7 separate regions of the Homo sapiens genome follow, and regions 2, 3, 4, 5, 6 and 7 are each linked to region 1. Evidence: promoter capture Hi-C in 16 types of primary human blood cells and fetal thymus (Javierre and others, 2016). All regions are on one chromosome and are shown on one strand. The core of a region is centred on a gene start or on the middle of the fragment in contact, and the rest is flanking DNA. Distances in the headings are between cores, read along the strand shown.

The links. The method cuts DNA at HindIII sites, captures the fragments that hold promoters and counts their contacts. A CHiCAGO score of 5 or more calls a contact.
Region 2: a contact is called between the fragment with the promoter of NACAD here and the fragment with the promoter of OGDH in region 1, in 12 of 17 cell types (naive B cells, activated CD4 T cells, total CD4 T cells and 9 more). The highest score is 9.3, in naive B cells.
Region 3: a contact is called between a fragment that was not itself captured here and the fragment with the promoter of OGDH in region 1, in 1 of 17 cell types (naive CD4 T cells). The highest score is 5.7, in naive CD4 T cells.
Region 4: a contact is called between a fragment that was not itself captured here and the fragment with the promoter of OGDH in region 1, in 2 of 17 cell types (activated CD4 T cells and erythroblasts). The highest score is 6.3, in activated CD4 T cells.
Region 5: the fragment with the promoter of SNHG15 here is called in contact with the fragment with the promoter of OGDH in region 1 in 4 of 17 cell types (total B cells, fetal thymus, neutrophils and 1 more); the score reaches 9.7 in total B cells.
Region 6: a fragment that was not itself captured here is called in contact with the fragment with the promoter of OGDH in region 1 in 2 of 17 cell types (monocytes and fetal thymus); the score reaches 5.6 in monocytes.
Region 7: a contact is called between a fragment that was not itself captured here and the fragment with the promoter of OGDH in region 1, in 1 of 17 cell types (fetal thymus). The highest score is 6.2, in fetal thymus.

Annotation. Positions count from the first base shown.
Region 1 is chr7:44,603,930-44,608,186 of GRCh38, forward strand. It overlaps OGDH (oxoglutarate dehydrogenase), which reads left to right and starts at 2,698. Exons shown (of 23, transcript NM_002541.4): 1 at 2,698-2,724. RefSeq lists enhancers at 2,258-2,857, 3,109-3,672, 3,348-3,687 and a silencer at 2,898-3,127. The HindIII fragment of the contact is 8,395 bases long and covers 1-3,344 here.
Region 2 is chr7:45,087,614-45,091,747 of GRCh38, forward strand. NACAD (NAC alpha domain containing) reads right to left here and starts at 1,356. Exons shown (of 8, transcript NM_001146334.2): 1 at 1,215-1,356. The coding sequence starts at 1,281. The HindIII fragment of the contact is 4,426 bases long and covers 1-4,134 here.
Region 3 is chr7:45,029,632-45,033,738 of GRCh38, forward strand. The region is part of intron 1 of CCM2 (CCM2 scaffold protein); the gene reads left to right. Among named protein-coding and RNA genes, the nearest start is that of CCM2, 31 kb to the left of the region's middle. The HindIII fragment of the contact is 3,779 bases long and covers 263-4,041 here.
Region 4 is chr7:44,936,653-44,940,362 of GRCh38, forward strand. No RefSeq gene overlaps it. Among named protein-coding and RNA genes, the nearest start is that of MYO1G, 41 kb to the right of the region's middle. The HindIII fragment of the contact is 1,716 bases long and covers 614-2,329 here.
Region 5 is chr7:44,985,032-44,988,921 of GRCh38, forward strand. SNHG15 (small nucleolar RNA host gene 15) reads right to left here and starts at 1,665. Exons shown (of 3, transcript NR_152597.1): 1 at 1,494-1,665. SNORA9 (small nucleolar RNA, H/ACA box 9) reads right to left here and starts at 479; the gene lies at 347-479. RefSeq lists a silencer at 57-237 and enhancers at 764-1,510, 1,356-1,475, 1,511-2,258. The HindIII fragment of the contact is 12,531 bases long and covers 1-3,890 here.
Region 6 is chr7:44,963,194-44,967,021 of GRCh38, forward strand. It overlaps MYO1G (myosin IG), which reads right to left. Exons shown (of 22, transcript NM_033054.3): 15 at 3,479-3,645; 16 at 2,880-3,087; 17 at 2,444-2,667; 18 at 1,752-1,896; 19 at 1,222-1,326; 20 at 856-969. Among named protein-coding and RNA genes, the nearest start is that of MYO1G, 14 kb to the right of the region's middle. RefSeq lists an enhancer at 2,865-2,964. The HindIII fragment of the contact is 2,717 bases long and covers 114-2,830 here.
Region 7 is chr7:44,198,515-44,202,572 of GRCh38, forward strand. It overlaps YKT6 (YKT6 vesicular SNARE protein), which reads left to right and starts at 2,464. Exons shown (of 7, transcript NM_006555.4): 1 at 2,464-2,725. The coding sequence starts at 2,622. RefSeq lists a silencer at 2,571-2,640. The HindIII fragment of the contact is 745 bases long and covers 1,610-2,354 here.

The DNA of each region.
Region 1 (4,257 bases), core at 1,448-3,947:
GAACACAAAAGTCAACCACAGGCAGGACTTAACCACTCAAATGGAGGAATGGACACCAAATTAGGAAGCATGGGGCGCCTTGTTTTGCTGCAATATGAACTTAAAAGCCAAAGATCCAGCATTGCCCCTTTGCATGACCCAAACAGATCACACCTTGTTGTATTTTCCCATCTCCCTCATAGTTGCCTTCTGCCTATAAAACCTGCCCCCAGATTCCATCTTGGGGAGACAAATTTGAGTATTGCCTCTGGTTTCCCTGCTGGTCGACCTTACGATAAAGCCTTTTCTCAAAAGGTGATGACATAGTATTGGCTTCTATGTGCATCTAGCAGTGAGCCCACTGCTTGGTACCACAATGGGCTCAAACATTTATAAGCCAATGTTCATTGCAACATTATTCAAAACAGCAAAAAAGCAGAAATAACCAAGTGTCCATCAATAGATGAATAAATAAACAAAATGTGGTATATACATACAATGGAATATTATTCAGCCATAAAAAGAAATGAAGTTCTGGCCAGGCATGGGGGCTCATGCCTGTAATCCCAGCACTTTGGGAGGTCGAGGTGGGTGGATCACTTGAGGTCAAGAGTTCAAGACCAGCCTGGCCAACATGGTGAAACCCCATCGCTACTAAAAATACAAAATAAGCTGGGCGTAGTGGCGGGCGCTTATAATCCCAGCTACTTGAGAGGCTGAGGCAGGAGAATTGCTTGAATCTACAAGGCAGAGGTTGCAGTGAGCCGAGATGACACCACTGCACTCCAGCCTGGGCAACAAGAACGAAACACCATCTCAAAAATAAAAAAAGAAAGAAAGAAAAAGAAAAAAATATTAGCCAGGCATGGTGGAGCGTGCCAGTAGTCCCAGCTACTTGGGAGGCTGAGGCATCAGAATCACTTGAACCTGGGTGGCAGAGATTGCAGTGAGCTGAGATGGCACCACTGCCCTCCAGCCTGAAACCGAGGGAGATCCTGTCTCAAAAAAAAAAAAAAGAAATGAAGTTCTGACCCATGCTACAACACAGATAAACCTTGACAACCTCATGCTCAATGAAATAAGGTGGACACAAAAGGACATATACATTATGATTTCACCCACATAAAGTAATTGAGTAATCAAATGTATAGAGACCGTATAATAGAGGTTACCAAAGGAGAGAAGGACAGGAGGAGAAGGGGAAATAGGAAGTTATTGCTTAATGGTTACAGAGTTGCTGTTTCAGGTGATGAAAAAGTTTTGGAAATTGAGTGGTGACGGTTGCATAATATTGTGAATGTAATTAATGCCACTGAGTTATACACCTAAAAATGGTTAAAATGGCATTAAAAAAAAAAAGACAGTATCTTGCTCTCTGGCCCAGGCTGGAGTGCAGTGGTACAATCATAGCTCACTGCAGCCTCAATCTCTCAGGCTCAAGAGATCCTCCTGCCTCAGCCTCCCAATTAGCTGAGACTACAGGTGAGTGCCACTACACCTGGCTAATTTTCTTGATTTTTTAGTAGAAATGAGATCTTGCTCTGTTCCCCAGGCTGATCTGGAACTCCTGAGCTCAAGCGATCCTCCCGCCTCCACCTCCCGAAGTGCTGGGATTACAAGCGTGAGCCACTGCACCCAGCTGCAAATGTTTAGTACATACATTTTTACCGTAATTTATTTAAAAAAAAAAAAGGAAAAAAGAATACAGAAGTTTGTTCCTTGGTCTCTTCACCTCTTCCAGTCTCTAGATCCTTGTCACATACATTACCCTAACTTTGTTCTATAATAAGCACTTATACGCCCCCTTTTTTTGTTTGTTTTTTGAGACGGATTTTCGCTCTTGTTGCCCAGGCTGGAGTGCAATGGCACGATCTCGGCACACCGCAACCTCCGTCTCCCGGGTTCTAGCGACTCTCCTGCCTCAGCCTCCCGAGTAGCTGGGATCGCCACCACGCCCAGCTAATTTTTGTATTTTTAGTAGAGACGGGGTTTCCCCATGTTGGTCAAGCTGGTCTCGAACTCCTGACCTCAAGTGATCCGCCCGCTTCGGCCTCCCAAAGTACTGGGATTACAGGCGTGAGCCACCGCGCCCGGCCTTTCCCCAAATTTTAATACTTTAAAATAGGGAACATCTTACAATCAACAGGTTGTGACAGGTTAATTAGCCACGTTTTATCTTTGATAGGTAGCTCTAAAGTCAAGAAAACCCAGGCAAGATCCCGGGCAAGATCCCAGCACTGCCAACTGTCATTTGTAGACCGGGGATAGGAACACCTGTCTCACAGATTGTTACACAATAGCGCCGGTGAAGCGCTTGTCACAAAGCCTGACCCAGGACAATCTCAAAAACGGAGATTCTGTTATTCAAATTGTTTATTTTTGTGCGCTAAGTTTCACATCAACCCAACTATCTCTTGATAGGTTCCTACCAGGCGCTAGAGATATCTTACTTTCAGAAATTATTTATGATAGCAGAAGCCGCTGGAAGTCCATAGACAACCTCATCTCTCTAGCGGAGCAAACAGCTGGGCTCCAGCTGGCCCTGGCTTCTGCAACTGCGCAGTCGGCGCTGTGACGCCCGGCGCGGCTCTGTGACGTCACGAATCGGTCCTCTGTAAGAGGGGAGGGCATTCTTCTCCAGGGGAGGGCTACGTGTTGACGCCATACGCCGGGGCGGGGCCGAGAGTTTGGAGCCCCGGAGTGGGGTGTCGGCGCCTCATTCGGGTGGAGCTGAGCCGGAGACAGGTAACCGTGCGCTGTCGCCGCGCCCGTCCCAGTGCCGGGTGTCGCGGCGCTTGGCGGCCCGGGGTTGGAGATCGCGGTAAAGGGGGAGGCCGCCGCGCCCTTGGTGCTGCGGGCGCCGCGGTGACAGGGGAGTGGAGCTGGATGGAGTGGGGCTCACGGAGGGTGGTAGGAGGGACGGGACCTGATGGATGGCCGTGGCAGCCAATGGAGCCGCGGGGCCTGCCCGGCGGGCGGAGATTGGCGGGTACGGGCGGGCTCCGAGGTCGCGCGGGGCGCGGAGCGACGCGCCATTGGCGGTGGGCGAGCGGGGGGCGGGCGCGGCGGCGGATGTGAGGGAGAGGGCGGTGCGTCCGCAGGGGTGACCCCCAAGGTCGCCGCGGGCGTCACGTGGTTAGGCCGCTCTCCGACGGCGTCCTTCCCGACCGGGACGCACTCTCCTTCCCGCCTGTGAGGACCGCGTCGCTTTGTCCGAAAGACAGTGTGGCCTGCTCGAGTTGCGTCGGAGCATCTGGCTTTGGGGTGGCCCTGGGTGGGACTGCCTGTTTGGATTACCGCGCAGACCTTGGCGCCGCCCCCACACCTGCTGCCAGAAGTTGGGTCGAACAGATTGACCGAGATGAAGCTTATTTCTCGTAGAAACATCTTTCAAGCACCATTTTCCCTCGAAAATATATCAGACATTGGATATGAGTTGTAATCTACTGAGATTTAATAGAAAACTTGCCGCGCCCTCGCCCTGACCTGGGTGCGTCCCACCTGCCATCCCCATCCCTTTGCCCAGAACATAGGACTTCGTGTTAGGGTTTCCTTGTGCCTTGTCTTGCAGTCCGTACTTTGAGGCTGATTTCCAGGTACACTGCTCTGAACAGCTGGGTTTAGGATGGGTGGCATGGGATAAAGCCTTTTTTTGTAAGGCAGCACTAGTTGCAACAGTCAAACTGTACTTTGCCGTGTAGACCTAGGAGAGTATGTAACACTATTGTAGTTTTGTAAATTAGCTGAGGACTGGATCTTGGGAAGTTGAATAAAGATCACTGTATGCTCATTTTTTGTTGTTGTTGTCTTGTTTGAGATGGAGTCTCTGTCGCCCAGGCTGGAGTGCTGTGGCGCGATCTCGGCTCACTGCAACCTCTGCCTTCCTGGGTTCAAGTGATTCTCCTGCCTCAGCCTCCCAAGTAGCTGATATTACAGGCACGCGCCATCACGCCCGGCTAATTTTTGTATTTTTAGTAGAGACGGGTTTTCACCACCTTGGCCAGGCTATTCTCGAACTCCTGACCTCAGGTGATCCGCCCGCCTCGGCCCCCAAAGTGCTGGGATTACAGGCGTGAGCCACTGCGCCCGGCCCCTCATTATTTTTTTTAAGCGCACTTTTCACATTTCAGTTACTTTTTCCCTTTAAATAACATCTTTATTGAGATAAAATTCACATACCATACGATTCACCCATTTGACGTGCACAATTTCGGCCAGTCGTGGTGGCTCACGTTTGTAATCCCCACACTTTGGGAGTGTGAAAGGAAGATCCCTTGA
Region 2 (4,134 bases), core at 106-2,605, 480 kb after region 1:
TGTTGCCAGGCTGCTCCAGCTCCCCTCAGCAGCATCAGAGCCCTGAGCCCTGAACCACCAGCCAAAACTTGTCACCCAAGGGCTTTGCTGCTGGGGTGATGGGACATCCAGGGGGTCCTGAGACAAGGGGGTCCTTTGGGTTCTTGCATGCCTGACACCCAACATCAGGAGTGGGCGTGGCTGGTGGGGCATCACTGGGTGCCCTGAAGCTGGGCTCTTGGTTCTGGCCCCTGGTGTGGCCCCCAGGGCAGGGGAACGGCTGAGCTGTTGGGATGGAGCAGAAACCAAAGGCCAAAGGTTTTTATAACTCATTCAAGGTCACCAAGCAAGCCAGAACAGAGCCAGCACAAGACCCTGGGGCTGGGAAGTCTGGGCCTGCACTCCCTGCCTCCCACCTAGAGCAGAGGCAGCAGCCTGTGTCACCCCAAACCAGGCCCCAGGCCCCAGCAGTGGTCCCATCTCTGGGTGACTTCTTGCCCACAGCAAGGTGCCCTTGGCCCTACCCACACATGGCTGACCTCCACGCCAGGACTGTCCAGGCTCGGCTCTTTCTAGGCCCCGTAGACCCCATCAGCCTCCACCAGCATTTGTTGACCCAGCCTAAGGACAGGTGGTCTGCACACCCAGGGCCATTGCTAATCAGGCCACCTCCCCCAAGGCCTTCCACCTTCCAGACCCAACTTAGGCTTTATTCCACCACCTGGCCCTCCATCCGGGCTTCCTAGGCTCTGGCCAGTCCTGCTCCTCCCTCCAGAGCCATGACCAGTCGCCGGCCCAGGACAGACCGGGTGCAACTGAGGACCCTCCCGGTGGTCACCTGATCGTACTGGGGGTATCAGCCGGACACCCCGCCTCCAGAACCCGCTGCCTCTGTCCAGAGCGGCCCAGCCCCAGCAGGCTGGCAGCTCGGTGCAAACAACGGGATGCAGCGGGCGGGATGCGAGCCCCACGATCCCTGGGTCGGAAGCCAAGGGCTTAAGCCCCCACGTTCTTTCTGGCTCGCGGCGGGCACTTCGTGCGCCCCACCTTCCCCGCAGTTCTGAGAGAGGCGGTAGCAGGGTTCAGATGGAGGGAAGGACAGGGCGCGGAAAGGGGAGGGGACTCGAGGGGGGCCAGGGGGATGGGGGAGAGGGGTGAAAGGTGAGCGATGGAAAGAGAACCCGGGCTGGAGAGGGGAGAGGCTGAAGGCAGGGAAAGAGTGGCCACGGCCTCACCTGTGCGGGGCCCGGGTCGGTCCGCCTCGGGCAGCAGCAGCTCGGCGCGGGCAGCCTCCCCAGGCATGGCCTGGCCGTGCGCCCGCCCGTCCCTCAGTCCTTCCGACCCTCCGTCAGTCCGTGCCGCCGCCCCGCCGAGCCTGCGCGGCCACCGCCCCTCGGCCGGGCGGTGGGGGCAGTGGGTGACGTCAGGCCGCCCCGCCCGCCTGTCCCAGCGAGTGAGCGTGCGCGGGCTCGCCAGGCACTGCGGAGGGCGTAGGGGGGGCTCCCTCCCCGCCCCCACCCCACCCGGCTGTGGCCTCCCTCTCGCTGTGGGCGGTTTCGTGGGGGAGCGGGGGTGGGCGCCTGCGCCCGGTCCCACCCTTTCCACAGCATTTACGAGGGAGGGTTTCAGGGCCAATTGGAAGCTGGGTTGCCTCAGGGTGGCATTCGCCCGTGGCCAGGAAGAGGCGGGGACGCCCCTAGAACCCTGGTTGTGGGAGGCTGGGGAGGTGGTTGGGATTCTGGGATGCTCGGAGCGCTTTGGGTGGAGTTGGCGGCGCAGCCTCCTTCCCCGCTGACCAAGCAGAGGGTGCAGGGCCTGGGGAGGGAGGGGGCCCCGCCCAGCCCGATGCCTCCATGCAAAAGGTGAGCTGGAGCTGCAGCTCTGGAGTGATTGGCTGGTCCTGGCAGTCGTCGGTCTCCGTGGCAACCGCCTCCTGTCTCCATGGCAACCAGGGATGGAGCCGACGAGAGCGCACCAGGGAAGGCGACCCGGATGGGTCGGTCTCCAGGTCTCTAGGCAACTCGGTGATCTGTCCTATCATCTCCCCTCCACCCCCACACTAGGCAGTAGAAGGAAAAGGAAGAAAGTGTTTCCCTCTATTCCTGGCAGCACCCTCTGCCACACCTCCCAGGAGGAAGCCCGCCCCGTGAATTTCCTGAAATGCCTCTTGCTTTCACACAGGCTACTGCGCCACCCAGATTCACTGAGCACCCCTCCTCCCCCGTGCCAGGCACCAGGGAGACAGATGAATGAGACATTGTCATCACCCCTGACTGGGGTGGGGGGAATCAGAGTAGCCATTGTCACAGGCAGGGAGGGAGGTTTCAACATCCTCAGTCTTCTGTGGGTTCTAACTTTGAGCTCATGAAGCCAGGGGCTGCCCTCTGACTCCCCCAGACCTGCCTCAAGGCTCAGTGCTACACACCTGGCTGCCTGCTGGGCATCTCTCCCCGCTGTACCCCAGGAGTCAGACACACCACACCATTAGAATTAACATCAACTTCAAACAATCTCTTCCAGAAAACAAAAGAGAAGGGGACACTTCCTAACTCATTTTATAAGGCAAGAAATATCCTGATGTCAAAACTAACAATGTGTCGCCAGGCGCGGAGGCTCACGCCTGTAATCCCAGCACTTTGGGAGGCCGAGGCTGGCGGATCACGAGGTCAGGAGATCGAGGCCATTCTGGCTAACGTGGTGAAACCCCGTCTCTACTAAAAATACAGAAAATGAGCCGGGAGTGGTAGCGGGCTCCTGTAGTCCCAGCTACTCAGGAGGCTGAGGCAGGAGAATGGCGTTAACCCGGGAAGCGGAGGTTGCAGTGAGCCGAGATCGCACCACTGCACTCCAGCCTGGGCGACAGAGCGAGACTCCGTCTCAAAAAAAAAAAAAAAAAAAAAAAAACTAACAAAGTGTCAATACACCCCAAGACCCCCAAAACGAAAACTGCAGACCAGCATCTCTCATGAATTCAGGCACAAAAATTCTCAATATTGGCAAATCAAATATAATGATGTATAAAAAAAATACACCATGACCAAGTGGAATTTATTCCACGTATGCAAGGCTGGTTTGACAGTTGAAAATCAATCAACAATACTCCAGAACACCAACAGGCTAAAGAAGAAAAATTTTGGTATCAGTTGACACAGAAAATGTGTTTGACATAACCAACATCATTCATGATTTAAAAAAAAACACTTTCAGCAAGTTAAAAATAAACTTGATAAAGATCTTATATAAAAAACTTATACAGCTAACATCATACTTAATGGTGAAAGACTGAATGCTTTTTAAGATTGGGAACAAGGCAAGGGTGTCCGCACTCACCACTCTTTTCAACATATTATTGGAATTTCTAAACCTTGCAATAAAGCAAGAAGAAATAAAAGGCAGATTGACTTCCAGAATGAAAGCATGGGGAGTTCTGCTGAGCAGCTCCCCAGTGAAACTGGTAAAAATTATTATTATTAATTTTAATTTTTTAATTTGAGATGGAGTCTTGCTCTTTTGACCAGTCTGTAGTGCAGTGGCATGATCTCGGCTCACTGCAACCTCTGTCTTCCGGGTTCAAGCGATCCTACTGTCTCAGCCTCCCGAGCAGCTGGGACTACAGGTCCCACCATGCCTGGCTAATTTTTGTATTTTTAGTAGAGACGGGGTTTCACCCTGTTGGCCAGGCTGGTCTTGAACTCCTGACCTCGTGATCCACCCACCTTGGCCTCCCAAAGTGTTGGAATTACAGGTGTGAGCCACCACACCCAGCCTGGTAAAAATTATTAAAAAAAAAAAAAAACAAACTGAGTTGAAAGGTCAGCAAGCCAGGCGTGGTGGCTCATGCCTGTAATCCCAGCACTTCAGGAGGCTGAGGTGGGCAGATCATGAGGTCAAGAAATCAAGACCTTCCTGGCCAACATGGTGAAACCCTGTCTCTACTAAAAATACAAAAATTAGCCGGGCGTGATGGTGCATGCCTGTAGTCCCAGCTACTCGGGAGGCTGAGGCAGGATAATTGCTTGAACCTGAGAGGCATAGGTTGCAGTGAGCTGAGATCGTGCCACTGCACTCCAGCCTGGTGACAGAGTGAGACTCCGTCTTGGGAAAAAAAAAAAAAAAGAAAGGGCCCAACAAAATAAAAGTGAAAGAGAGAACAAA
Region 3 (4,107 bases), core at 902-3,401, 430 kb after region 1:
TAAGTTAGTTTCTGAGAATTTGTTGAGCAGATCCAGTTACTCCAGATCCTGTTCACCCAAGTGAGCTGATAATGTTGAGCTTCAGATTTAACAAAACTCAAGACCCGCAGTTGGCATCTGAGGGCCAGCCTTGCCCAGAGCCTGAGCCTTGGCTTTGTGTGAGGAGGGCATTCTCACTAGGTAAGCCCTAGTAGGCCAGATTTAGTTTTAGTTTTTTAACTCAGAAGTACATTTTAGGTTTCCAACTTTAAGAGTTGTTTTAAGCTTAAGACGTTAACTTTGTAAGAATTTGTAAGGATCTAGGCATCTTCCAGAGTGAGTTTAGAAAGTTCTGTATAGTTATCTGAGGTGGCATATATTCCATATGGATGTCTTTGCACAGCGCTGCATGGTGACTCAGAGCCCTGTGTTCCCTCCTCCTGGCTCCGTACTGTGGACTCTGGCAGGTCCCTTCGACCCTCACAGCCTCAGTTTCTTCAGGAGAGACTTAGGCTGGGATAGACTCCACACCTCACTTTGGTGCTGGGACTCCACTCATGGAAGAGAAATAGCACTTAGCCTGGTTTCCTTCTGGGGACTGAATTGGTCCTTTGGTCTCTGAGGTTCAAAGGTGACAAGATCATTTAGTGGTGATGAACAGGCATACTCAATCAAATACATGTTGAATGAAGAATGGTTGCCTGGGCTAATCCCACCTTTTAAATTCTATGTGTCCATCTATAGTACATTCTAGTGAGTTAAAGAACCCATGATGGTTTACTGGAATCCTGATTCTGTACATTAAAAATATGCTAAACCATTTAATTATTTCCCTCGTTCCTTCCAGACAGGGTCTCACTCTGTTTCCTAGGCTGGGTGCAGTGGTGTGATCACAACTCACTGCAGCCTCAACCTCCCAAGCTCAAGTGATCCTCCCACCTCAGCCTCCTGAGTGCCTGGAACTACAGGCTAATTTTTAATATTTTTTAGAGACAGGTCTCGCTATGTTGTCCAGGCTGGTCTTGAACTCCTGGCCTCAAGCGATCCTCTTGCTTTGGCCTCCCAAAGTGTTGGAATTACAGGTGTGAGCCACTGTGCCTGCCCTCAATTTATTTTATTTATTTTTTTCTTGAGACGGAGTCTCACTCTGTCACCCAGGCTGGAGTGCAGTGGCGTGATCTTGGCTTACTGCAACTGCTACCTCCCAGGTTCAAGCAATTCTCCTGCCTCAGCCTCCCGAGTAGCTGGGACTACAGGTGTGCACCACCATGCCCGGCTAATTTTTGTATTTTTAGTAGAGACGGGGTTTCACCATGTTGGCCAGGGTGGTCTTGAACATCTGACCTCAGGTGATCCACCTGCCTTAGCCTCCCAAAGTGGTGTGATTACAGGCGTGAGTCATTGCACCTGGCCTCGATTTATTTTTTAACTAGAACTTTCCTTTAAATTTATTTTCTTTCTTTTTTTAGATTTAAAGAGAACAGGGCCTTGCCCAGGTGCAGTGGCTTACACCTGTAATCCCAGCACTTTGGGAGGCCGAGGTGGGTAGATCACTTGAGGTCAGGAGTTTGAGACCAGCCTGGCCAACATGGTGAAACCCCATCTCTATAAAAATACAAAAATTAGCCAGGTGTGGTGGTGCACACCTGTAATCCCAGATACTCGGGAGGCTGAGGCAGGAGAATCGCTTGAGCCCGGGAGGTGGAGGTTGCAGTGAGCCGAGATCACACCACTGTACTCCAGCCTGGGCTGTATAGTGAGACTCCAGGTCAAAAAAAAAAAAAAAAAAAAGAGGGCCTTGCTTAGTCACTTAGGCTGGAGTGCAGCGGGCAGTCATAGCCCACTGCAGCTTTGAGCTCCTGGGTTCAAGTGATTCTCTCCCCCCAGTCTTTCAGGTAGCTAGGACTACAGACGTATGCCACCACGCTCAGCTTTTTTCTTTTTAATTAATAATTATTATTTGTTTTGAGATGGTCTTGCTCTGTCACCCAGGCTGGAGTGCAGTGGTGTGATCACAGCTCACTGCAGCCTTGACTTCCTAGGCTCAAGTGATCCTCCCACTTCAGCCTCCCAAGTAGCTGTGACTACAGGTGTGTGCCACCATGTCCTGCTAATTTTTATGTTCTAATTTTTGTATTTTTTTTAAAAGATGAGGTCTCACCCTGTTGCCCAGGCTGGTCTTGAAGTCCTGACTCTAGTGATCCTCCCATCTTGGCCTCCCAAAGTGTTGGGATTACAGGTGTGAGCCACTGCGCCCAGCCATCAGCTTAAATTTTGTGTTCAAAAGCAACTTCTTTTCCAAAAATCTGAGGTGGCTTCTTGTTCAGTTTTGTATCTGGAATAGCAGAGAGCTCTTCCCCAGCACCGGCTGTCCCTCCTACCACCCCCTGCAGCTGAGAGCTGAGCAAACATTACCTCTGAAAAGCCCCATCATCCTCAGCGAGAACAGCAGCTACCCTGCATTCCGTGCTGAATGGGTAGGAGTGGCAGAGGGAGGCTGCAGCAGATGTGCAAAGATGCATTTCTTTACTTAATAGTGTTAATATTCCACTTTCTAGGAAGGCTTACCCATCAATTAAAATTATTTGAGACATTAAAAAAAGAAACTTAGGGTAGCTGCTATTGAAGACTAAGGACTAGGGCCAGAGAGACGCCTGCCTCCAAGTAGTCCACAGAATCTGCTTGTTAAAATGTTCGTGATTTGGAGGCCCAGGTAGAAGGGGCAGGTTCCTCTGAAGCGCCTTGGCATGCCCTATCTTTGGCGTTCCGGGGTCGCCCTCCTCTGCTAGTCTGTGAGCAGTCAGAAGGTTGTATCTCCTGTTCATTCCTCTCCTTGTCTCTTGCTGCTCAGAACAGCAGCTTTAAGAACAGGGTGGCTGAGCCCTAAGTGTACCTTTGGAGCATCCTGTGTGTCTTCAGCATTGATTGACTGTTTTTACTGTGGATTTAATTTCAGTTACTTTACTCTGGTCTTACTACTTCGGCTTGACTGTGACATCGTTGAGGGCAGGGGCTGTGTCACCTCTAACCAAAGGGCCTCCCCAGATGCCTAGCCTGGTCCAAGCGTTCCATCAAGAGTCAGTACCAGCGTTTATTGCTGTCCAGTCTGTGCAAGCTCCATGCTGGCTGCTGGGTAAGAGCCAAGGGCAGCCAGGCCTAATGGCTCATGCCTGTAATTCCAGCACTTTGGGAGGCTGAGGCTGGTGGATCACCTGAGGCTGGGAGTTTGAGACCAGCCTGGCCAACATGTTGAAACCCCATCTCTACTAAAAATACTAAAATTAGCCAGGCATGGTGGTGGGTGCCTGTAATCCCAGCTACTCCAGAGGCTGAGGCAGGAGAATTGCTTGAACCGGGGAGGCAGAAGTTAAGTGAACCAAGATTATGCCATTGCACTCCATCCAGCCTTGGTGACAAGAGCAAAACTCCGTCTCAAAAAAAAAAAAAAAAAAAAAAAAAAAGAGCAAAGGCCAGAGGAGGAAAGAGCTGAGCTCGATGTAGGGAAGAATTGATGTGATGCTTGGGCAATAAGAGGCATCTACAGATGGCCGTCCTGGTTTCCTTGCCCTGCAAGAGTTCCTACTATTTCTCACTGCCTAACTGCAGAGGGTCTCTCTTTAGGGGTGGGATTGTAGGACGGGGGAGCGCCAGAGTCCTTCCCAGTGCAGACTGTAATTCTGTGTGGAGACTATAATTTTATGACCTGTACATCAACATTAAAATAACAGTGTAGGTTGCATGTGGTTTGTGGGACCTGTTGATTTGGTGTGGGCTTCTTGGTTAGAGGTTGATCTTGGCAAATCTCCTGTCTCAGAGTTGGTTTCCTGTTGCTCCCATAGGTAGATTAGTAACTAGTTTGGCTAACAGGCAGCTTTCAGAAGAGCCAACAAATGGAGCCAGGCTGCTTGCCCACACTGTCAGATTCAGAGCTCAGTCACTGTCCATGACACAGCTAGTTATCATTTAGGAGGAATGAGCTTTGGGGGCTAGCAGGCAGAAATGGTTTAGGGACAGCCATTTTCCTGTGGCTGATGTGAGATTATCCATGTCTGTGGAGATGCAAGCTTCCGAAAAGCTGGGCTCATGGGCCAAATGCCTCTGTATTTCCATAACCTCCAGGCCAGGGTC
Region 4 (3,710 bases), core at 222-2,721, 330 kb after region 1:
CTTCACTCACTGTCAGAGAGCAGGCTATCTGGGAGCATCGAGTTTGATTGCTTTTTGTAGTCTAATTTTTTTTTTTGAGATGAGGACTCGCTCTTGTTCCCCAGGCTGGAGTGCAATGGTGCAATCTCAGCTCACTGCAAACTCTGCCTCCTGGGTTCAAGTGATTCTTCTGCCTCAGCCTCCTGAGTAGCTGGGATTACAGGCGTAAGACACTGTGCCTGGCCCTAATGTTTTATTATATTTTAGTATTCAGTGATTTTACTGAAATCTATCATAGTTTAAAAGTTTTGTGAGCGTCATCTCTTAACAGACAACTGTCTTGCAAATAGAAAAATAAATAAATGTAAAAAAAAATTACTGAATTGATTCTTTGAATAGCCAAGGAAACTTTGTGGTTGTGTTATAAAATTACATGTGACAAAATAAGTTGAAATTCTGAAGGCTGTTTTCTCTGGGCTGGTGCTTGGCAGTCTCCCCAGCACATTCATGAATGCCATGTCAATACTCCAGGCTGTCTCCATATTTTAGAAATTCCAAAATCGATTTGAGATTTGTAACTACATTCTATAAGAAGGCTCCTGTGAGAGTAGAGTCAAAGAAAAGACTTTCTAGAAGCTTGAGAATAATGCCCTTCTCCCAGCCCTCCCCTGCACACCTGTCCCATGAAGTCAGGAGGGTGAGACTTACAGGCATTGATCATCTGGAGACTTCTGAAGGCAGGAGCAGGGTAAGAATCGAGGCAGAGTGCAAAGAGAATGGGAAGTACTGTTCCCTAGAGACAAGGACTTACTCCGATTTGAGTCTTGCATTTCTCACTGGGCACAGGAGAGGCCCTGGTGTTTCTCTGGCCTAAAATGATGGAGCATAGGGTGTAGCCAGTGGAGCAGAGGACCTGCTGCCCCATGGAGGGCCTCCAGGCTGAGCAAAGGGCTCCCCAAACAGAAAAGAGGTGGAGGCACACACGTCTCAAGGGGCCCATGGGCCGTGGCTGCTCTATTCTGGTGAAGGGCGTCCTCCACATGAGAGAGGTCAGCCCCCCAAATAAAACTGTGCATGGTCACATAGCAAGCCCCCTGCCAGCTGAGACTGCTGCATCTCCCACCCTCTAACAGCGTCAGTGACAGATGGGGCACAACTGGGCAGGAACCAGAATCATCCCCTCTTCAGCCACAACATTGCTGGGCCCCAGGTGGATGAGAGACCCTGAGGGGGTAAGACATTGGAAAAAAGATAGAGGGGATGAGATGGCATATCACCCCTCACAGACACATGCACATTAACTCTTCTCCAAGACACAAGTCTGAGCTGAACGGCAGTGGGAGCAGAAGTGGGGACCTCTGAATAAGTATAAAAGTGGATTTTCTTAATTGTCTGGATTAGTGAAAATGACCAAAAAGCAATGGCCATGACTTATAGATATGTGTGTTCCCATTACCTAATGATACCATCTGCTATAAATTTCTTAGCAGGTATTGTACCAATAAAAGCATTATTAGAAGCCATTAGAACAATGACTAAAATAATTATGGTATCAATCCTAGGACTGAGTGAGTTGGGCAGCCTACCAGGGTCTTATCTACACTGTAAAAACAAAACCTCTTACCCTGCTCTGAGTTACTAAAATGGAAACTGGAGACTTCTTTCTCCACTCCTGAATCTGAGCCACGTCACAAAGTGGGACCCATTGAAGAAAGGTGACCCTGGGGCATGTCCACAGAAATGGGCTGTGACTCTCTCTCCTAGGTGTTTCCAGAGGTGCTTGCAAGACAGCTGTGCTCTGGGGAAAGGGGAATGAGCAAAGACCCAGAGAAACCTCTGTGGACCACAAATCAGAGAGGAGCAGGTGGAGGTTGAGGAAGGTGGTGCTGTAGTGGGCCCAGTGTTCTGCAAACCCACCTTCGGTAATTTCCCAAATTGTTCATAGATGTCAGGAATAGACATACTTAGTTACTTGCCAGAAACTCTGCATTAGGGGCCGATGAGCTAGAGCTCTTCAGCTAAACTGGTTATATGTATGTAACATCTGTATCTATGTTGCTATATATGTCTATATGATCATATATACATGTTGCACGTATATATTTGTGCATGTACATTCATGTGACAAAAGAAATAGAAAGATCAATTTGACCTTTTGAAGACACAAAATTTAAAAATACAATGCATTTGTTGGAAAGAATCTAGTATATAAGAAATGTGTAATGTTCAGGGGAATTAATCAACACAAGCTGTGGTTTGTGTCACGTTTTAAACTTAATGATATCTGTAGACCCAATGGATGGCAGAAATAGAAATGAGTATTGTCCATATTTAATGATGAGGAACTTGAAGCTTTCCCACTAAGATCAGGAACAAAGCAAGGATGTTCCCTCTCACCACTCTTTTTCAACATTGTACTGGGCAACCTGGCTAATGCAATAAGATAAGGAAAGAAAACAAAAGGTATACAGGGTGACTTTTTTTTTTTGAGCGTCTTGCTGTGTCACCCAGGCTGGAGTGCAGTGGTGTGATCCCAGCTCACCACAACCTCTGGCTCGCGGATTCAAGCGATTCTCCTGCCTAAGTCTCCCAAGTAGCTGGGACCACAGGTGCCCACCACCATGCCCTGCTAATTTTTTTTTGTATTTTTAGTAGAGATGGGGTTTCACTATGTTGGCCAGGCTGGTCTTGAACTCCTGATCTCGTGATCCATCCACCTCAGCCTCTCAAAGTCCTGGGAATTACAGGCATGAGCCACCGTGCCCAGCCAGGATGACTTTTTAAAAAAGAAATAAGGCCGGGTGCAATGGCTCACGCCTGTAATCCCAGCAATTTGGGAGGCCAAGGTGAGCAGATCACCTGAGGTGAGGAGTTCAAGACCAGCCTGGCCAACATGGTGAAACCCCATCTCTATTAAAAACACAAAAATGAGCCAGGCGTGGTGGCGGGCGCCTGTAATCTCAGCTACTCCAGAGGCTGAGGTGGGAGGATCGCCTAAACCTGGCAGGTGGAGGTTGTAGTGAGCTGAGATTGTGCCACTGCACTCCAGCCTGGGCAACAGAGCAAGACTCCATCTCAAAATAAATAAATAATAAAAACTAAAAAAGAGATAAAACTTTTTAAAGATGGCATGATTGTCTATGTAGTGAATAACAAAAACAAAAACAAAACCTCCTGAAGCTAATAAACAATTATAGCAAGGTTGTAGGATACCAGGTTAATCTATAAAAGTCAAATTGCTTTGTTATATACCAGTAATGAACAATTGAATTTTTTAAGAGACAGGGTCTTACTTTGTTGTTGCCCAGGCTGGAATGCAGTGGTGTGATCATAGCTCACTGTCACCTCAAACTCCCTGGCTCAACCAGTCCTCCCCTCAGTCTCCCAAGTAGCTAGGACTACAGGTGGATGCCACCATGCCCAACTAAGTTTTAATTTTTTCTGTAGAGACAGGGTCTCGCTATTTGCCCAGGCTGATCTTGAACTCCTGGCCTCAAGCAAGCATCCCAACTAGGCCTTCCAAAGCACTGGGATTACAGGTGTGAGCCACTGCACTTGGCCTGAAATTTTAAATTAAAAAGACAGCATTCATATTAGCACCAAAAAAAAGGGGGGGGGGAGGGGAAATAGGTATAAATCTAAGAAATATGTACAAGTTCTATATGAGAAAAACCATATAACTCTGATGAAAGAAATCAAAGAACTAGATAAATGGAGAGATACCCCATGTT
Region 5 (3,890 bases), core at 415-2,914, 380 kb after region 1:
ACCACTCTTGGCTTCATCCTCAACTTTTATAAGACTTTTGCTTTAAGTGTATAATAAAATAAAATTTGTACTGAGCCTGGAGCACAGCAAACACTCAGGATTCCCTTCACCTTTCACACCAGCATTGTCCAAAACAACTTCCACAGCGACAGAAATGCCCTCTAATCTGTGCGGTCCAATATGGTAGCCACTGGCCACCTGTGGCTACTGATCATCTGAAATGTGGCTAGTGTGAAAATGAAATAAAACTCCAAATTTAATTTAATCATGTGTGCCAAGTGGCTACCACATTAGATGGCACGGATCTATACAAGGCCCAGGACACTAGATCCAGGAGGGAGGAAGTCATTGTCTGAAATTTCTATAACCTTGCTCTGGATGGAGCAGGGCAAGGCCTCAAACCGTTTCAAAACTGTTCTAGCAAGCACTGAAGGAATGCATAGGGTCACCGCAGACCCAAGCACGCTGGAGGCTTGCTACCCTCATTCACCCAAATCCCCCACACTCAAGGAATCTGGCAGTCCACTCTCACTAAGCACCAGTCCCTGCTGGGGGCTGTGGGAAGAGACCAGAGTTCAATTAGGCACCTGAGCTTGGTTCCAGGAGCCCAGAGCTACTAATGACTCTCAGGGAAAGATCCTTTCTGGCTGAGGAAGAAGGGAAGGTGTCTTGGAAGAGATAACCTTATTAAATTATTAAATAGATCAGACAACACGAACTAAACTTCCACATTATTCTATGACACTACAATTCTAGCATGGCTTTTCACTGTGACCAGAAACATCCTTATCATCATGTAGTTAATATAAATACTGCCTTTTCCCCTTCATTTTTTTCTCATGTATCTTACGGCTCAGAAATCACTTCTGAAGGAGTAAGTAGACCAGGCACATGAAGTAGATTTCATTTTCCCCATGAAATAATGGTTCAGAGAAAACGCAGGCCTAGTTCCAGGAAGGCAGAGTTGGGGTCTCTGCAACGTGATTTACCGGGGCATCTTGCAAAGGAGTTGCTGTGACAGTAAGCTCTTCCACTTTGAGACCGTCACCTCAGCCACGGCTCCCACCTAGAAGGGAACAAATGCAGTTAGCTCCAAACGCAGTTAGCTTCAGCTTGTGCCTCTGAACCATTATCCAGCTCTAGCTCCTTGCAACGCCTGGCCCACTCTACAGCCTCTCTTGCGGCAGGTCTACACGCCACCCCATGCCTTCCGGTGAGGTCCCTCCTGACCACACGTCCCATCCCACCTACTGGGGTCCACCCAGGTCATGCAGAAGCCCCACTTCTCGGCTGAAAGAGAAGCACGAGGTTACTCATCAAGTAATCCCCGAGTCTCCTCCGGGTAAAATGTTCCGAACGCGCTCAACCGCCTCTTGAGAGGAAGTAGCACGTGTAGTGAAGGCTTGGTCTCCAAGAATCACTGGTGCCCCCACTCACTGCGGCCCAGCCTCCCACGCCGCCCGCCACTGAACCCAATCCCCCAGGACCCCTACCTGGGCTCAGGAATGGTCAGGCAACACGTGGGGCCCAGGATGGCGGTGGATGACTAGACTGCCGAAGACCGCGCCGCTGCGACTACGAAGTACGGAGTACGGAGTACAGGTCTGCCAGCCAAGACTGACGCCGCGCGCTGCGCCGCGCACCTCGACGTCACCGCGTAGTCCCGCCCCGAAGCCGTGCGTGGCCGGGGCCACAGCGTTTGGGGTAGATGACGTCACGCGGCCGCGGGCGCTCGCTTGGTAGGGTGTGCTGGGGCGTAGAGTTTAGGGTCCTGAGGCTGCGTCTGCGTGTCAACTCAGTGGAGTCTCTCGACCGCCCTTTGTTACCCTCCTTTAGTGACCAGAAGGCTGGAGTTACGTAATCTGCCCCTACAGCTAAAAGGACGGAGGCCTGACGGCGTGGCCTGGAGGGACGCGCTGAGCCCCTAATGGGTGGTGCCTTCCTGGTGCGGCCGCACAGGCGGGGCCGGGCGGAATCCAAGCACGATGTGGACACGGAGCCTTGGGAATGAACAGGAGCCTGCCTGTGGGAGCATGTGGGAAAGGTGATGCAGGTGGAAGGGCAAATACAAATTATACATAGGGTTTAATTTTCCCTGAGGAAAAGAAGGGACGAGAAACCATCCCCCTCCCTTTTTCTTTCAAAATTTCAGCCTCTCTCCTTTCCAAATGTACTCAAGTCTTTTTCTTATATGGCCAGGTTCAACTCAGGAATGTTTCTTGGGAGCCATCTCCTTGAAGTGTAATTGTTGGCTGGGTGCGGTGGCTCACGCCTGCAATCCCAGCACTTTGGGAGGCTGAGGCGGGCGGATCACAAGATCAAGAGATCGAGACCATCCTGGCCAACATGGTGAAACTCTGTCCCTACTAAAAATACAAAAATTAGCTGGGCATGGTGAAGCGTGCCTGTAGTACCAGCTACTCGGGAGGCTGAGGCAGGAGAATCGCTTGAACCCGGGAGGCGGAGGTTGCAGTGAGCCGACATAGCACCACTGCACTCCAGCCTGGAGACAGAGCGAGACTCTGTCTCAAAAACAAAGAAAGAAAAAAATGCAATTGTTAAGGGACGAAAGGGCCAAGAGTCCAGCTTCTTAGGAGGACAAAGGCTTAACTTGGCACCTGACTCCAAATTGCAAAACCTACATAATGTGATGGGCTATCTCTACTTAGCTGCATAGAAAAAGTGAGTTTCTGTCTTTGTGTTGCCTTTAGCAGGTTGCATGTGATGTACGGCATCACAATCTGGTTTAATACTTATTCAGTAATGGTTTTCTGTCTCTTCTACCTTTGTGGAGAGGTTTCATGGGTTGGGAGGAAACTACTCTCCACCCCCCACCCACCCCCAGGCAGAGGAAAGCACATTGAAAGGTCCTGAAATTGGGAAGGACATGGTTTGCTGGTGATACAGCTAAGTATTACAAGTTTGTAGTGTTCTGGAAGGGTCTCAATGAGGAGCGGGAGATAAGGACGATGTGTTCAAGGGTCTTGAATGATCAGGCTAGAAAAGTGAGAACGTGGTTCTATAAGTAAAAGCAGAGCAGTGCTTGAAACTCGTATTTTATGTATTGCACCTAGTAAATACATTCAATCACTTTACAGTATACAAATCCCATACTTCACTAAGTGTCAAAACCCTAACAGACAGATAAGGCAGAACTGTTACTTCCAGATTACTAACGTGGAAACTAAGCCCCACCCAAACAAGTTAAGTGGTTTGTTCAAGACCTCCTACAACAGGCTGGGCGCGGTGGCTTATGCCTGTCATCCCAGCACTTTGGGAGGCCGAGGCGGGGAGGCGGGTGGATCACCTGAGGTCAGGAATTTGGGGCTAGCCTGACTGACATGGAGAAACCCGGTCTCTACTAAAAATACAAAATGAGCCGGGCGTGGTGGTGCCTGCCTGTAATCCCAGCTACTTGGGAGGCTGAGGCAGGAGAATTGCTTGAACCCAGGGGGCGGAGGTTGCGGTGAGCCGAGATCGCGCCATTGCACTCTAGCCTGGACAACAAGAGTGAAACTCCATCTCAAAAAAAAAAAAAAAAAAAAGGACCTCCTACAACAGCCAGGGCCTGGTGCAGGTTGTCCTAGCACAGGGTTCACTGGTCTGTCCATTCTGCCACTGCTATGAGATTGTAATGGCCCAACAGGTTCACCTTGCCTGCTGCCTAGGCAGAACCAATTTATCAAGACAGGTGAATTGCAATAGAGAAAGAATAATTCATGCAGAGCCAGCTGTGTGGGAAACTGGGACTTTTTTTATTACTCAAATGAGTCTCCCCAAGCATTTGGAGGTCACAGTTTTTAAGGATAATTTGGAGGGTGGGTGGCATCCAGTGAGTCAGGAGTGCTGATTGATCGGGTCAGAGATGAAATCATAGGGAATTGAAGCTG
Region 6 (3,828 bases), core at 222-2,721, 360 kb after region 1:
CCCCAGGAAGCCTCTGCCGAACCCCCAACCGCACCCGGGGAGCGCCGCCCTCGCCAGGGCCACCAGCCCCCCACCGCCCCCTCCTCCCTCTCGGGGCCCTGCTGACAGGGGGAAGCTTGGGCGGGACGCTGCACAATACGATTTTCTCCAGGACTGATGGTTCTAGATCCTTGCTGTCCAACAGGGCCGCCACTGCTCACCTGTGGATGCTAAGCCCTTGCATGTGCTACTGCCTGGAGGAGCCGTTTTTAGTTCTAGGTCACTTTCACTGCATTTAAACAACCACGCCGGCTTTGGGCTGTGGCATTACACAGCAAGGCACTCACCGCCCTTTCTATTGGGACAGTCATGGGACCCCTGAAACTGTGGGAGACCCAGAGGTAGCCTGGCCTTGATCCCTACCCCCGTCTTGTGGGAAAGAGAATTTATGGGAACAGCAGCTGCTAATGAAGGGAGCAAGTAGGCCACAGAGCTCGGCAGAAGGTTCCGGAGTGGCCGGGACGGTATCCCACAGGAGGCCCAGAACATTGTGGTGGGTACTCAGGTCCCAGAATGCCCAGGTGGGAGAACCCCAGTTGGGCACAAGTTGGAAGAGGGGACCATTTGGCTTGGCTAGAGTGTGAGAGTGGGGGTGGGGGGTGACTGGGCTGGTGGGGATCACAGGATGGGACCTTTCACTCTGTGGGCGTGGGAAGCCACTGCAGGATTTTCAGCACGGGTGCCACCATCGCTGAGTTTTAGGATGGTCTGGGCCATCTCAGGTAAACAGGGGAGAGAAGACTGAGGCAGGACTCTGAGCAGCCCAGCAGTGCCCCTCACAGATGCTGCACCCTACTCCCCACCCACATTGCTCACCGCCTCAAGGGGCACGGCCCGCATCACCCGGTACTGCCGGTCAGGGTCCAGCTTGTAGAGGTGCTGGTCTGTGAGCAGGAGGGCCCGGTTCCGGATCTTGTGGAAGCGGTTCACCTGTGGGAGAGGTGGCTGGACCCAGGCTGGTGCTGCCCTGTCACCCACCAGGGCCCCAGGCTTCGGCAGTCCCTACTGCCTCCCCTCCCCGCTGGCGACAGTTTTGGGAGTGTCAGGAGCAGCTGGGCCTGGGCTGGGGTTGCCTCCATTTTCTCCCAAGTGCCCCCCCAAAACTCTGCACCAGCTTCTAACCTTGCAGACGTGGCTAGAAAAAGAGCACAGCCCTGAAGCCATCCTTGTCCCTTGTCTAACCTTGCGGACATGGCTTGAAAAGAGCACAGCCCCGAAGCCATCTTTGTCCTGAAGTGTCTTTAGTCGCTGAGCAAACAGGCTTGATGCTGTGGGATTGTCAGTGGCCTGAGGACAGATGGAGGGGAGGGGGCGCTGCTTGGGATTGAGTCATGGGACCAGACTCAATTGATAGCAGCTGTCTGTGAATCAGCATAGCTATCCTTCATCTCGGGAAACTGAGTCACACAGACTTGTGCGTGAGCTGAGCAGCCCTGGATTTCCTGAGGGCACAGAGCCCTCTTGTGTTGACTTCTAGGCTGCATCTGAGCCTGGCCCTCCTGTCATCCACACCCACCCCCGAAGGCCACTGCTCCTGAAGCCCAGGATGAGACCTTGCAGAGCTCTGGTGGGGGCTGAGGTACAGGGCCACCAGGACAGACAACCCCAGGCCTGGGAGAGGACATCTGAGGGGACCTGGTCACAGCATTAGCCGAGAGCCCTCTTTGGCAGCCCACTTCCCCCTGGCAGCCCTGGACTCGCCTGGCACTTACAGAGGACAGGTAGTCTCGGGCCCAGGCCCGTCGGCAGCCCCAGTCCTGACGAAGCCCTTGCAGGGCCCCCATGGCGGCCACCTTGGCCTTGATCTGGGGCATGTCTGAAGGGGGGATGTTCTTCACCAGCTGCCGGGCCCGCCACCTGGGAGAGGGCATGTAGTCAGACAGATGCTGGCCATGTGTTCATGTGCTCCCTGAGCCCCCTCTCCACAGAGGAAGCTGAGCCCTCAGCCTGGTGCTGCCTGCCTTTCATGTCCCAACCTCTGCCGGCCTCTCTGGCCTTGGCCCCTTGTGCCTAACGCTTGTTCCTGGAAGGTGACCCAGGGACCAGCAGTCGCCCAGTGTCCTCCTGTTCTGAGCATGCTCTGTGCCCCTCCTTCTGGAGAACTCCTACTCAGCCCTCAAGACCCCGCTCAGATGCAGAATCCCCTTACTTCCCAGCCCTAATGGGCCTCCCCCTGCAGGCTGCAGCCCTGGACCTTGAATGCCCACCACAGTACCCAAGATGGTCAGGGCTCTGCACCAACTGTGGGACATGAGCAGTCAGCTAATGTGGCATAGCATCCACCTTCCCACCTATCAAGGGGGCTGGTGTATCTCCCATCCAGGCACTGCAGGCCCGGGATGATGGGTTAAGGTATTCAGTGGATGCCAGCTGAATGGAATGTGTGGTGGGCTGAGAGTAGTACCTGCAGAAGAGTGCGTGGCAGGTGTCCTGGAAGGGCTGCAGCACAGCAGGGGGCAGCGGCCACACAAGGTCACGCCCGTAGAGTGGCGGCTGCCTTGCAGCCTGGAATCGCCGCTGCAGCTCAGCCAGGTGAGCCCGCACCTTGTGTCTCCGGAACCAGCGCATGATGGTGTAGATAGCCCTCAGCCTCCGGCAGCGCCACCTCGCCAAGGTGCCCCGCCATGCCTGGGTGGGCCAGGTGGGATGGGATACGCAGTCAAATTCAATCAGGCCCTAACCCTTAGACCCAAACCTGGCCCTGAGCATTTATTGAGCACTCCCTGGCCTGTCTCCATCAAGCAGAGACTCCTGTGAAACTTACAAGTGTGTTTGTGGCCCCTGGGACACAAGCTTTCCCCACCTCCATAGTGGATGTCTTCCTGCCCCGCCCACCTCACCTTCTGCAATAGCAGCACAATGATGGGGATGAGGCGGGCTCGGCTCTGCTCCAGTGTGACCAGTGTCCGGGGTGAGCGGATGAACAGCTTGCTGTGGCCAAAGGCCACGTCCCCCTGCAGCCCGTGCTGCTCCAGGAGAGCGCTCACGGCTGCCTTGTCGGAGCCCAGCAGGTGGTTGGGCCATGTGTATTCACAGGTCATCTTGTACCTGTCACCACAGGACAGGGCAGTGTGGCCCAGGCCTGGGGGAGAGATGATGGAGCCCACCCTGCCCACCCCACACCTGGGGAGATGGCAGGGATACAGAGTGTGTTCCTGGAGCACTTATGACACCTGTGCACATATGTCTTCCCATACACATGTCCTCACATACATGTCCTCACACAGCCCTCATACCCATGTTCCCACCTGTATGTCCCCACATGCATGTGCTCACACACATGTCTTCCCAGATATTTTGGTGTCTTGAGGCCAGCAGCGTGCTGGTTCCTGCTTGTATCGATGTTTGCGACGTGCTGTTTGGGGACCCTCTGCTCCTACCCCTTGGACTCCACACAGGGACTATGGCCCATGGAGTGATGGGTGTCAGGTGCCAGTACCTGAGCAGGAATCGAGAGTAGGGCTGGCGGGAAGCGAAGCCAGCCCTGCGGACCCTCACATTCTCCAGCAGCCCCAGGTATGCGACCTGGTGGCGACAGTGGTTCTCATCCAGCTTCCCAGCTACCTTGTCCTCATTGGGCTTGATGCAGCGGACGTAGAAGGGCTCCTGCAGGGACAGAGGGGACTTGGAGAGGGTCTGCGCCAGCAGCACTGTGCACCCTGCCCCACACCAGGGGCTTCCTAACCCCTCAAGGTCCCAGGCCAGGAGAAGAGTTGGGAACAAAGAAGGGAAATCAGCAGAACAAGGGCCCTGGAAGCCCTAAGTGCTGGGCAGAGGCCAGCAAGGCCA
Region 7 (4,058 bases), core at 732-3,231, 410 kb before region 1:
ATGATGAGCATTTTTTCATGTGTTTTTTGGCTACATAAATGTCTTCTTTTGAGAAGTGTCTGTTCATATCCTTCGCCCATTTGTTGATGGGGTTGTTTGTTTTTTTCTTGTAAATTTGTTTGAGTTCATTGTAGATTCTGGATATTAGCCCTTTGTCAGATGAGTAGGTTGCAAAAATTTTCTCCCATTCTGTAGGTTGCCTGTTCACTCTGATGGTAGTTTCTTTTGCTGTGCAGAAGCTCTTTAGTTTAATTAGATCCCATTTGTCAATTTTGGCTTTTGTTGCCATTGCTTTTGGTGTTTTAGACATGAAGTCCTTGCCCATGCCTATGTCCTGAATGGTATTGCCTAGGTTTTCTTCTAGGGTTTTTATGGTTTTAGGTCTAACATGTAAGTCTTTAATCCATCTTGAATTAATTTTTGTATAAGGTGTAAGGAAGGGATCCAGTTTCAGCTTTCTACATATGGCTAGCCAGTTTTCCCAGCACCATTTATTAAATAGGGAATCCTTTCCCCATTGCTTGTTTTTGTCAGGTTTGTCAAAGATCAGATGCTTGTAGATATGCGGCATTATTTCTGAGGGCTCTGTTCTGTTCCATTGCTCTATATCTCTGTTTTGGTACCAGTAGCATGCTGTTTTGGTTACTGTAGCCTTGTAGTATAGTTAGAAGTCAGGTAGTGTGATGCCTCCAGCTTTGTTCTTTTGGCTTAGGATTGACTTGGCAATGCGGGCTCTTTTTTGGTTCCATATGAACTTTAGTTTTTTCCAATTCTGTGAAGAAAGTCATTGGTAGCTTGATAGGGATGGCATTGAATCTATAAATTACCTTGGGCAGTATGGCCATTTTCACGATACTGATTCTTCCTACCCATGAGCATGGAATGTTCTTCCATTTGTTTGTATCCTCTTTTATTTCATTGAGCAGTCGTTTGTAGTTCTCCTTGAAGAGGTCCTTCACATCCCTTGTAAGTTGGATTCCTAGGTATTTTATTCTCTTTGAAGCAATTGTGAATGGGAGTTCACTCATGATTTGGCTCTCTGTCTGTTATTGGTGTATAAGACTGCTTGTGATTTTTGCACATTGATTTTGTATCCTGAGACTTTGCTGAAGTTGCTTATCAGCTTAAGGAGATTTTGGGCTGAGACGATGGGGTTTTCTAGATATACAATCATGTCATCTGCAAACAGGGACAATTTGACTTCCTCTTTTCTTAATTGAATACCCTTTATTTCCTTCTCCTACCTGATTGCCCTGGCCAGAACTTCCAACACTATGTTGAAAAGGAGTGGTGAGAGAGGGCATCCCAGTCTTGTGCCAGTTTTCAAAGGGAATGCTTCCAGTTTTTGTCCATTCAGTATGATATTGGCTGTGGGTTTGTCATAGATAGCTCTTATTATTTTGAGATACGTCCCATCAATACCTAATTTATTGAGAGTTTTTAGCATGAGGGTTGTTGAATTTTGTCAAAGGCCTTTTCTGCATCTATTGAGATAATCATGTGGTTTTTGTCTTTGGTTCTGTTTATATGCTGGATTACGTTTACTGATTTTCGTATGTTGAACCAGCCTTGCATCCCAGGGATGAAGCCCACTTGATCATGGTGGATAAGCTTTTTGATGTGTTGCTGGATTCGGTTTGCCAGTATTTTACTGAGGATTTTTGCTTCAATGTTCATCAAGGATATTGGTCTAAAATTCTTTTTTTGTTGTGTCTCTCTCTGCCACCCTTTGGTATCAGGATGATGCTGGCCTCATAAAATGAGTTAGGGAGGATTCTCTCTTTTTCTTTTGATTGGAATAGTTTCAGAAGGAATGGTACAAGCTCCTCCTAAAATGTGGCACATATACACCATGGAATACTATGCAGCCATAAAAAATGATGAGTTCATGTCCTTTGTAGGGACATGGATGAAGCTGGAAACCATCATTCTCAGCAAACTATTGCAAGGACAAAAAACCAAACACCGCATGTTCTCACTCATAGGTGGGAATTGAACAATAAGAACACATGGACACAGGAAGGCGAACATCACACACCGGGGACTGTTGTGGGGTGGGGGGAGGGGGGAGGGATAGCATTAGGAGATATACTTAATGCTAAATGACGAGTTAATGGGTGCAGCACACCAACATGGCACATGTATACATATGTAACAAACCTGCACGTTGTGCACATGTACCCTAAAACTTAAAGTATAATAATAAAAAAAATGCTTACTTTAAAAAAAGAAAGAAAAGAAAAAAAAAAAAAAGAAGGGTTCAGGCCGCTGTGGGAGGCCCAGCACCACCCAGCACAAGACAGTACGGTATCCCGCCGCGCGCCCGACTCCACCTGGCGAGCAGGGAGGGGCCAAGCTTACGCGAGGCGTGGCATCCCGCCCCTCGCTGCATTGTACTTCCGGGCTCACATTTCTGCATCCGGAGTATGAGAACCCTCAACCAGGCTGACCGGATCCGGAAGTGGATTGCGAGCCAGGAGGAGGAAGCCGGCGGTGGCCCCGTCAGCAGCCGGCTGCTGAGAGGCCGGTAGGCGGCGGCGGTCCCGAGGGGCGGCGGCCGCGCTGCTCCCTGAGAACGGGTCCCGCAGCTGGGCAGGCGGGCGGCCTGAGGGCGCGGAGCCATGAAGCTGTACAGCCTCAGCGTCCTCTACAAAGGCGAGGCCAAGGTGGTGCTGCTCAAAGCCGCATACGATGTGTCTTCCTTCAGCTTTTTCCAGAGATCCAGGTGAGCGGCACAGGCTGGTGGGCCGTGGCGGTCGGGCGGAGAGGACTGGGGTGGGGGTCCGAGTCGGAGTGGGCCTGGGGTCGGCGGAGGGATGAGGGGAGGGTGGAGGAGGCCAAGGGTAGGGGCAGGGCGGGGTGGCCGAGTGCCCGGGGTCTGAGAAGGCTGGTGTCCGAGTCAGAGGCGGGGCGGGGTGGGGAGGGCCCGGGGTCTGCTGTCCGGGCTTGGTCTCCTATAATGGAATCTGGCCGTGGACTCTACCTTTGAGGAACCAACATTAGCTCTTTAAGAGCTTATACCATTCTAGAATATAGTTCTCTACTCAGTGTTTTTCAAATTTCTGTCGTGTAAAAATTTTAAGGAGACTGTGAAGTAGTGCAGATTTCCAAGCTTCATGCCAAGATGTTCTGAATTAGTAGATTGAGGCCTCGGTATTTATATTTTAGACCAACACTTCCCACCCAGTGATTCTGACTCTGGGAGCTTGGGTGCCGCATCTTGAGAGCCATATTTTGATTTTCTTGCGGGGCTTCCCAACAATTCTGTATGAGAGATAGTGATATACTTTTTTTTGTTTGTTTTTAATGGGTGAAGTCACTGAGGTACCAAGAGGTTATATCACAACCAGCTAGAACTGAAAGCCAGGTTTAACGCTTTTTAGTTGGACACTAGTGGTACAAAAGGATTCCACACGGAAGATGCAAATGAAGCATGGGATCTGTAGGGCTTACAGGCTTTTACTTGTTTCTGGGGCGCTTTAATTGCTGGAACGTGTTAGAAGTAACACAGACACTTCCAGACCATTCGTGGGAGGGATTGGGGTGACTCAGGCACGAAAGAAGGAGGACCCTACATGGTCGGTATCTATGGTCATCTTGTCTCAAAATCTGATGGAATCTGCCGTTTGGATTCTGTTTTCCCTGCTTCAGTGCAGCTGGTTCTTGATGAGAGTTCTTTGCCAAGGACTTGCTGGATGTAAAAAAAAAAAAATGTTATTTTGTTGAAACTTTCTGCTTCTTTGAGTTCTTTTAAAAAAATATTTTTAATTGTGGTAAAATGGTACACAAAATTTATCTTCACTATCTTTAAGCGTGTAGTGAGTGCATTGATATGAAATAGATTGATAGTGTTGTGCAGCCATCACTGTCAATCGTCTCCAGAACTCCTTTTTATCAAATTCGTGTCTATTAAACACATTCCCTTCTCCCCCAGCCCATGGCAACTGCCATTCTAATTTGTCTCTGTGATTTTGACTTTTCTGGCGACCTTAGATAAATGGAATCATATAGTTTTTGTGTGTCTGGCTTATTTCATGTAGCATAATGTCCTCAAGGCT